Regions from separate parts of the Homo sapiens genome. Here region 2 is linked to region 1. Evidence: promoter capture Hi-C in human tissues and cell types (Jung and others, 2019). All regions are on one chromosome and are shown on one strand. The core of a region is centred on a gene start or on the middle of the fragment in contact, and the rest is flanking DNA. Distances in the headings are between cores, read along the strand shown. Region 1 holds the start of FAM110B (family with sequence similarity 110 member B). Region 2 has its middle 33 kb from the start of LINC03133.

Evidence for each region. The method cuts DNA at HindIII sites, captures the fragments that hold promoters and counts their contacts. A contact is called where the count stands out against the background at its distance.
Region 2: a contact is called between a fragment that was not itself captured here and the fragment with the promoter of FAM110B in region 1, in 1 of the 25 tissues and cell types used here (aorta).

What each region holds. Positions count from the first base shown.
Region 1 is chr8:57,992,744-57,997,194 of GRCh38, forward strand. FAM110B (family with sequence similarity 110 member B) reads left to right here and starts at 1,780. Exons shown (of 4, transcript NM_001377989.1): 1 at 1,780-2,063. RefSeq lists silencers at 2,107-2,156, 2,177-2,226 and an enhancer at 2,231-2,731. The HindIII fragment of the contact is 16,250 bases long and covers 1-4,451 here.
Region 2 is chr8:58,302,523-58,307,108 of GRCh38, forward strand. No RefSeq gene overlaps it. Among named protein-coding and RNA genes, the nearest start is that of LINC03133, 33 kb to the left of the region's middle. The HindIII fragment of the contact is 6,947 bases long and covers 1-4,586 here.

The sequences.
Region 1 (4,451 bases), core at 530-3,029:
ATCATGCCACTGCACTCCAGCCTGGGTGACAGAGTGAGACTCTGTCATCAAAAAAAAAAAAAAAAAAAAAAAGAAAGAAAGCTAAAACTCATTGGTTACATTCCTGATTTTCAAAGCATCGATCATAGGGGAATCTTTTATGATTTTATAAGTGAGTCTTCTGGAAAGAAACTTAACTCAAAATGGCATAAGCAAGAAAGACAATTTATTGGTGCATTACTTCAGAAGTTCAGGATTTGACTGGTTTTAGAGGTGACTGTCTTCGGATGGCCATTGATGTCATCAGGGCACTTTTCTGTCTCCATTGCTCAGTTTGGCTTTTTTTCTGGTTTTGTTTTATTCTCCAGTAAGTTGACTCCAGCTGCTGCACGCATATATGATATGGTCCCAGGAGCTGCCCTGTCAGTCAGGGAAAGGACCCTCCTCCTTTGTTCTCAGACGATATTCTAATTGGCTGGCCTGGGTCATATCCCTCACAATGTCAGGAAGCTCTGTGGGCTAGTCACACCCAATGGGAGGGGGAAATTCCTAAAAGGAAGGGATTGGGGCAAAGAAGTGGGGAAAAAAAGTATACTTGAGAGGGAGAGAAGTTGGTTCCATTTGCTATGGGAATGATGAAAAATAGTTTATTTCTATTGTTATATGACTTTTGGAGTTAATGGAGACCACAACGTAATCTGTGATAACAAGGAATGTATTAGTATGCCAAAGGAAAGTTCCATTTAAATCCCAGTATCATGTCACTTTCTTAAAATGGTAATCTTTAAATAGAAAAAAAATATATTATTATAAAGTCTGAGTTTTATTTAGTTGGCAACTTCTTAACTATTATGAAACAATAGATTCATTGAATTGAAGCACAATTCAAATATAAACGATCTTTCTGAGAAAATGAGATGAGTGAAATCGTATTGTTAATGTACCAGAGATTAAAAAGAAATCCTTGCTCAATATTTTCTAGAAGAAACAATTATTTTGTGAGTCCATATCCCATTCAAATTCATTTTGATAAAGATGGATTTTATCTTTTAGACTTCCCAATAGCAAAATTAAATTACAATGTGTTTAGTCTTCCTAAAACAAATCCTCTCCTGAAACAACCAAGTTATTAAGCAAATCTAAGCAGAAAGTATTCTCAAATACTATATTAGGCGATTAATAATGACGCACCCCAAAGCATTTCATTTTAAAACATCAGCTGGCCCACATTTCAGAGGTAGTACATCATGCTTGATATTTTTCGTTATTTACTATTTTCTCCAAACATTTTTTTGAAGTCTTAAAAATGCCTTCAGAAATTAAGCTAGGACGCTCCATCTGAGTATATGAAAGTTAGTAAACAGAAAATGTCAAGCACCAAGACGTTTGGATGGCTGGACTACCAGGTGGGGTTATCTCATTCAGGGCACAGGCTCTACGTCTCCAGTGCTGAGCGATCTGCACTGGGGTGGCAGTCCGAGATCCAGCGGTATCACCGGGTGGGAGCAGGGTGGGGGTGCTTGCGTGCGGACATAGGTGGGAGTGGGGGATAGGGAGGAAATGGAGGCGCCGACCGAGTGGAATGGGGGGTGGGTCAGGGATGGGGTGGGATGGGCATCAGTAGCGGGGTGGAGATGTTGAGAGAGAGGCAGGGCTTGGAGTGGAGGTGCGAGAAGGGTGGGGACCCGGAAGGTGGGGTGGGGGCGGGATGGAGGCGGGGCGGGGTGTACGAGGGGCGTGTACACTGGCTCAGGGACACGCGCTCTCGGCCACAGCAACTGGCTCCAAGTTCCCTCCCTCACTCTCCGGCGAAGCCTGCCTGAGCCCTCCCACTCGGTGCAGACCGAACCATCGCGGCCGCCGCCAGCCGGGCCCTTCGCGGCCGCGCGTCCTGGGCCCGTTCCGCCAGCCCCGTCTGCTCTCTACCCGCGGCCCCGCGGCGGCGACCGTGAACACTCGGCGGCCCCTACAGCCCGCTCTCGGCCCTTCGTCCCTCGCGGGCCCCGACTCTCCCTCCTTGCAGTCCCCCGGAGCCTGGCTCCCGGCTCGGGCCGCACCGCCAGGGACTGGGGTGAGCGGCCCAGGTAAGACTGGGCCGTGGGGGCCGGGAGAGAGACTGCTGGGCGGGGGTTGGGATTCGGGTTCAGTGGTCGCGCCGCGCCCCGACTGCGGACAATGCGGGAGCTGCGCGCGGCCAGGCGGCGCGGAGCTAAGCCGGCTCTGCGCCTGCAGCTTCCCCGCCCGGCCCGGGTCTCCGTTGAGCCCGGCCTCACTGGCCCAGGCGGACCCCGTCCGGCTTTCTGGGCTGCCGGGGGAGGCGCAGCGCCGCTGCCTGCCCCGCGCCCCCTCTGCGCTCGGCTTGGCTGCACGTCCCGGGCTCGGCTAGGAGGCTGGGCACGGGGCCGGGGCTGGAGCCGGGGTTGGAGCCAGGGCGGGGGGAAGCTGGCCGCGCTGCGGAGCGGAGGTGGGCTCCGAAAGCGCGCCGCCGGTTGCTGCTGGAGGAGTGGGACTACGAAGGATGGGGACTCCGCTCGGCCACCGCTCCTGAATGGTCTCTAATCTCGGTGTTAAATACTTTATGAGAGTATCAATACCACCTAATCCTTTGCTGAGAATTACTGCTAGAAATGTAGATTCTGAGGTTCCGAAAGTTTGTTTTTGGTTACCCCCTCCAGCTCCTCCCGTGGCCTCAATTGTCTCTATTTTCTTTGAAAGCATACAGATTTGAAATAGAATTAAATTCTCCTTGGCTCACTCGTGTCTCCATCACCCAGCGGAGCTCATAACTTGGCAACAAAGCCCATACAGGCTGTGGGAAGCCGCGATGCCTGCTGCCCAGCCTGGTGCCCTCCTATTGTTTAGAGCTGGAGCTGTACAGTGTAAATGGCAGTGACAGGTCTCCCTTAAGCTGGCTCGTGGGGAAGGAAGGGAGATAACTTTGCAGTGTGCTTAAATTACTCTGGAAAGTGGAAAGAAAACACCTGGTGCTCAGCTTTTTAACCCTTTCAAGTTGTTATTCAGATTTATTGACACACACACACAGAAAAGTGCAGGCTTTCTTTCCTGCCTAAAAAATAGGCAACCTCTGTGTTCTTCCTCACAGCCAACTTATGTCCTCTGCAAAATCTGGCACACATCTGTGACAACATTGCACTTCTGGCGTAACTGGTCTATTTCTCAAAAGGGAATATGATAGTAGAATAAGCATTTTTGCAGTATGGATAGTAGGACTTCCATTTTCTTCGTTTCCTTTGTTGGTGAAGAAGGTATTTATTATTTTCCCCCCAGTTTACACGTAGTGATTTCTGGGAAGATACTTGTATTAATTTCTTGTACTCATTTTTGTGACATCACAACCCCTGGTCATTCAGGTAAGCTATTTATTAAGCATAGTTATTCTAGAATAAAGGTGAGTTAATGGTAAACTAGAATCCTTCACTGATAACATCCCATTGGTTTACCCTACGGTATTTAATCTGTAGTATTACTATAGATTGTACATGTAAAGTCACTAATTGAACAGAGAGGTGGTTGGTGCCTTGTTAGCCTGACATAAAGTGCTTAGAACAGTGCCTTGCATATAGTTCTAGGTGTCAGCTAATATTACTTTTAATTTTTCTTATCAAGCTATGTGTTATTTTCTGTTTGGAAAATGGTCGTTTTGATTTTTAAAATTCTGATCTGTTAGGTCATGATCTATTTTAAGTCTGTGGTTTTAATTTTAGATCAGGGCTGAGGTTGGGTTGTTATTATGCCTATGACTGACAGGCTTCTCTGCGTATCCTTATGCATGGTGAGGGTTGATTTAATTCATCTTATATATTGGATCTCTAAGGGCAAGACATCAGTCTTGAACCCAGTCATGCCCTGGTGCCTTTCATAAGGAGACCTGGTTGTCTTTAAGAGCCTAATTGTTTAAAGAGAGGCCTCCACATTAGGGAAGACCTGGGCTCTGAACCCCATTCCTTACCTCCCCTGCACTCCCTTGTTCTCTAGGTTTAGAATCCCACTTCCAATTCCCAATGGAAAGAACCGTTGGTACAGCAGAGTTAAGTAACTCTCACAGTGTTAAAAGATGATAAAAGATAAATATGTCTACTGTATATACAACAACCAGAGCATTTAATTCTTTTTCATGCTTTAAAATATTTTAGAGCAGGATTTATAGCCTAACTAGCTAAGATAAGAAAACTCACTTATTTAAAACTACTTATTTGCCATGTGTTAGTAACCAAAGATTGTGTTTCCTATTTAGATATTTTAAATGATTGTCAGGAGTTTACTCTTATTTCATGTTCTCCTTTCCCCTTTAACTTTGAAGTGACTTTTTAAAAAATCGTGATTCCTAAATAACTTAGCTAAGCGAAGGCATGGTATTAACTCTTAGGGCCCTGCAGAAGCAAAACTGCTGTAGGCACAGTGGCTTGGCAGTAGATGGTGCTGTGGACAAGGCTGGTGGAGGAGGCATATGT
Region 2 (4,586 bases), core at 1,290-3,789, 310 kb after region 1:
AGTTTTAAGATCTGTGCATTTTACTATGTATAACCATATATTAATTATACAAAGGAGAAAAAGAAAAGTGAGAAGGAGGAGGAGGTGGAGGGGAAAGAAAGGAGGAGAGCAGGAGGAGGGAGAGGGAAATGGGAAAAAGGAAGAGGGAAGGAAAAGAAGAGAAGCAGAAGCCGGGAGGGGAAGAAGCAAAGAAGCAACAGCAGCAGCAGAATCCACATTCCCTGCAAGAAGCATGAGAACAAAATGTTGGTGGATATAAGAGCAATTTCTCTCCATCTTTTCTAAGTACCATGATCTTGAAATGGTAGATAAACAAAAAGCAAGAATTTAGGTGGGGCATTAAGAAAATTTCAGCTGGAGTTCATGGCCCTCCTCCTCCCAAGAGGTGTTTTCACACATGGACTCAGAGGTTTTGTGGACCTTTTAAATTCACATGAAGTCCTGAGTGTGTCATTTCCCACACAGACATTTTTCAGGAGAATCAGAATTTTCAATGAGCCATAGATCTGAAATATGAAGCTTCACTGTCTTAAAAGAAGTTGCTAGCCACCAGGATAGATTACAGAGTAGGCATCTGAAATGTCTTTCCTGACAGATCTTTACAAATAGTCTGTTTATTAGAAAATATTTTGTCATTAATGTTAAATTTCTTGAACATTATATTAGTCTTGTGGTTATGCACAATATCCTTATTTTTAGTAGGTGTATATTGAAGTACTTACGGGTATAGTTTTCTATCTTTGATTTTCTTTCAAATGATTCAACCAAAAAAAGTGCATGTGTGGACACTATATATAGACAGCAAAAACATTACAGCAAATGTGACAAAAATATTAAAAATTGGTGAGTCTAGGTGAGGGATATATGGATATTCATTGTGCTATTCTTACAAATCGTCTGTAGTTTTGGAATGTTTCAAAATAAAATGCTGGGGATAAAGAATAAGACACATACTCAAAAATCTTTTGATCATCTAGGCAGAAAGACCGTTTCACACCTATAATTGCAAAAATCCAGGCTACCCTCAGATTTCTCCAGAATAATATCCACTGTTAAAATTTAAAACTATGATAAACTAACTTTATCTTAAGGGAAAAAACTTTAAACCAAGAATTTTACACCCAGCTAAACACTGATTTAAAGAAAAAAGGAAGCGGTAACATACTTGCAAAGGGCCCTTCTTGAAAAAGTACTAGAGGATATATTTCAGCCAGCTAAAAGGTGAAAGTAGAAACGATGGAAAGGGAATGGATATGATTATTTAACTGTAATATAATGTAAGTATTACCTGAATACTGAAATAAATCAAAAGATTATAGTTACAAAATGAAATGTGACTGTTAAAAGACTGATGATGAATAAATACAAATAAAAATATTTGGTAAAAGAATAAAGAGAACACGGAAGGTAGTTTAAGTATACAGACTTTCTCATCTTTAATATAACAAGTTCAAAAGAGATAAAAAGACTAAGTTAAAAGTAGGATAAGTATATTTTAAAACACAAAGGCAAACATTAAATAATATCAACTAAAAATCAGTGGCAGAGAAGTTCGAGAAAGATAGATTTAGTTGAAATATACTAATTTCATCATTGTCTATAAAGTGAATTTTTAAAAATCAGTTAAAGCCGACAAAAAGAAAGCATTTGAAGGATTTGACAACGATACATAACTAAAATGTTTAATTAATTGAGAGCCTGTTAACCTGATAAAGTACACTATTTTAAAAAGTGTTATTTAAATGAGAAAATATCATAAGCAAACTCTTAAAATCAGGAATACAACAAGGATGTCTACTAACATAACTCCTAGTCAGCTTGAAGTAGAGGTTCTAGCCAGCACAAAGCCAAGAAAAAGGGGGAAAAGGCATATGGTCTAGAAGAGGGAATAAAAATGTAATTATTTGTAGATAGTATGGTACTTTAGAAATATGAGGAGAGCTCAGCAAAGTGGAAAAATTAAAAGCCAGTATAAGAGTCAATCATGTTTCTACATATCAGCAACAACAAATTAGAAAACATGAGTTTGAAAGATACTATTTATTATAGCAAGAATATTAACAAAATACCTAGGAATATACCTAAAAAAAGATGCTCTAGACCCACACATAGCAAGTTAGAAAATGCTACTGAAAGGCATTAAGGAAGACTTAACAAATTGAAGAGATGATCTGTATTCATAGACAGGAATACCTAATATTGTAAAGCTATCAATTGATCCCAAAGCGATTCATAGATATAATGTAATTCTAAATAAAATTCCAATATACACATCTTGAAACATGACAATTTGCTCCCAAAAGTTACACTGAAGAGCATATGACCAAAAAGAGAGAAGAAATTTTCAAAGAAAAATTATTGACATGGGTAGGGTAGGGTGGAAACTGTTCTACCAGATATGAAGAGTTATTTTCAAGCTATAATAATTAAGAAGTCATAATATTGGCAGTAGTATTAAAATTACAGAGAACAAAACAGAAAGACAATGAAACTTACTCACACAACAACAAAATTAAAATACTATTTAACTTGATGAAACATAGAGCCCACAACAAAGAGCTGATGTTTATGAGTACCTATTTGCCAGACAACACAGCAATAAGATGAATGAAACAGATAAAATGCATGAAAAATAGATGAAAAAATTAATAGTGGGAGTCTTTAATCAGTTCCCTTGATTTTAATTTTTATCAGATAGATAAAACCAAAGACATTAAAAAACTTAAATGACATGATCAGATAGCTTTAGTTACTAAAACACATACTGTAAAGAGAATTCCCTTTCATTTTAAGTATACGTGCCAATAATACAATAAAACCAAACGTCAATTACAAACTCAGAAAACCAAACTCTAAGATTCAGAATGTATATTTTTCTGGAAGAAGATAATTTACTATCACTGATCTCAGGATATATAGCAAAAATATAAATACATCATTTTTCATAGAAGAAATAAGGGAAATAATCTAGAGGCTTCTTTCTATTAAAAAGCACCAGGCACAGGTGTTTTCATAGGGGAATTCTGCAAACTCTCCAGGTAATTCTAATGTGATTTTAAACTGTTCCTGCATATAACATAAAGAAGACCTTCCCAATTGTTCTAAGCAAAATGTTTTCTTAAATCTTGATACCCATAAAAACCACACTAGAAAATAAATCTAGAGATCAATCTCACTTATAAATGTTCATGAAAAAGACCTTATAAAATATATTTAACAAACAGAATCCATGCTTACAAGTAAAAGAATATTGCATCTGATTAAGTGGGGTTTATGCTACTAATACAAGGATTATTTTCATTAAGAATAAACTTGGGCCAGGCACGGTGGCTCACTCTTATAATCCCAGCACTTTGGGAGGCTGAGGCAGGAGGATCACTTGAGGCCAAGAGTTTGAGACCAACCTGGCCAACATGGTGAAATCCTGTCTCTACTAAAAACACAAAAATTAGCCAGGCATGGTGGCACACACTTGTAACCTCAGCTACTTGGGAGGCTGAGATGGGAGTATTGTGGGAGAATCAGGAGGTGAAAGTTGCAGTGAGCAGAAATCATGACACTGCGCTCCAGCCTGGGCAACAGGGTGAGACCATGTCTCAAAAAAAAGAATAAACTCAATAGATGCAGGCTGTAAAAACATTTTATTAAATTTAACATCCAAAAAATATTTGATATCCTTTTTTAAAAAAAATTGGAACAAGGGTTTTTTTAATATCTAATATAAATAGGTATTTACTTAAAATAGATATATGTATGTGTATACACACCCACACATGCACATCTATGAATAGTGAATACATTTTCCTTAAATTCAGAAACATGACTAGGATGTCTACTCCTGCCACTATTATTTAACAAGCTGGTAAGTACCAGCCAAAGCAATCAAAAAAGAAAGCAATTAATATGTATAACAACTGGAAAAGAGTAAATAAAATAATCATTATTCATAGGTGATATAACTGTATAGCTAGAAAATACTTGAGAATAACTTAAAAATTATTGCAAATAATAAAAAAGTTTAGTAAGATGACAGCGTACAAAATTAGTACATGGAAATAAACAGCTATCATATATAAAAACAACAACAAGAGAATCTAACAGAAGAAGGGATCCAACACAACAGGGATAGGGATATGCTTAACAAGAATTGTTCAAAATCTATATGACAGTATTCTGAAACACAACTAAAAGAAGAAAGAAAAGAACTGAATGAATGAAAAACTTACCATGAGTTTGAATAGGAGAAACTCAACTAAAATTACTAATGGGCTACAGGCCCCATGCAAGTCTGAAATCCAGTGGGGCAGTCAAATCTTAAAGCTCCAAAATGATCTCCTTTGACTCCATGCCTCACATCCAGGTTACGCTGATGCAAGAGGTGGGTTCCCATGGTCTTGGGCAGCTACACCTCTGTGGCTTTGCAGAGTATAGCCTCCTTCCTGGCAGCCTTTGCAAGCTGGCATCAAGTGCCTGTGACTTTTCTAGGTACACGGCATAAGCTGTCAGTGGATCTACCATCCTGGAGTCTGGAGATGGTGGCCCTCTTCTCACAGCTCCACTAGGCAGTGCTCCAGTAGGGATTCTGT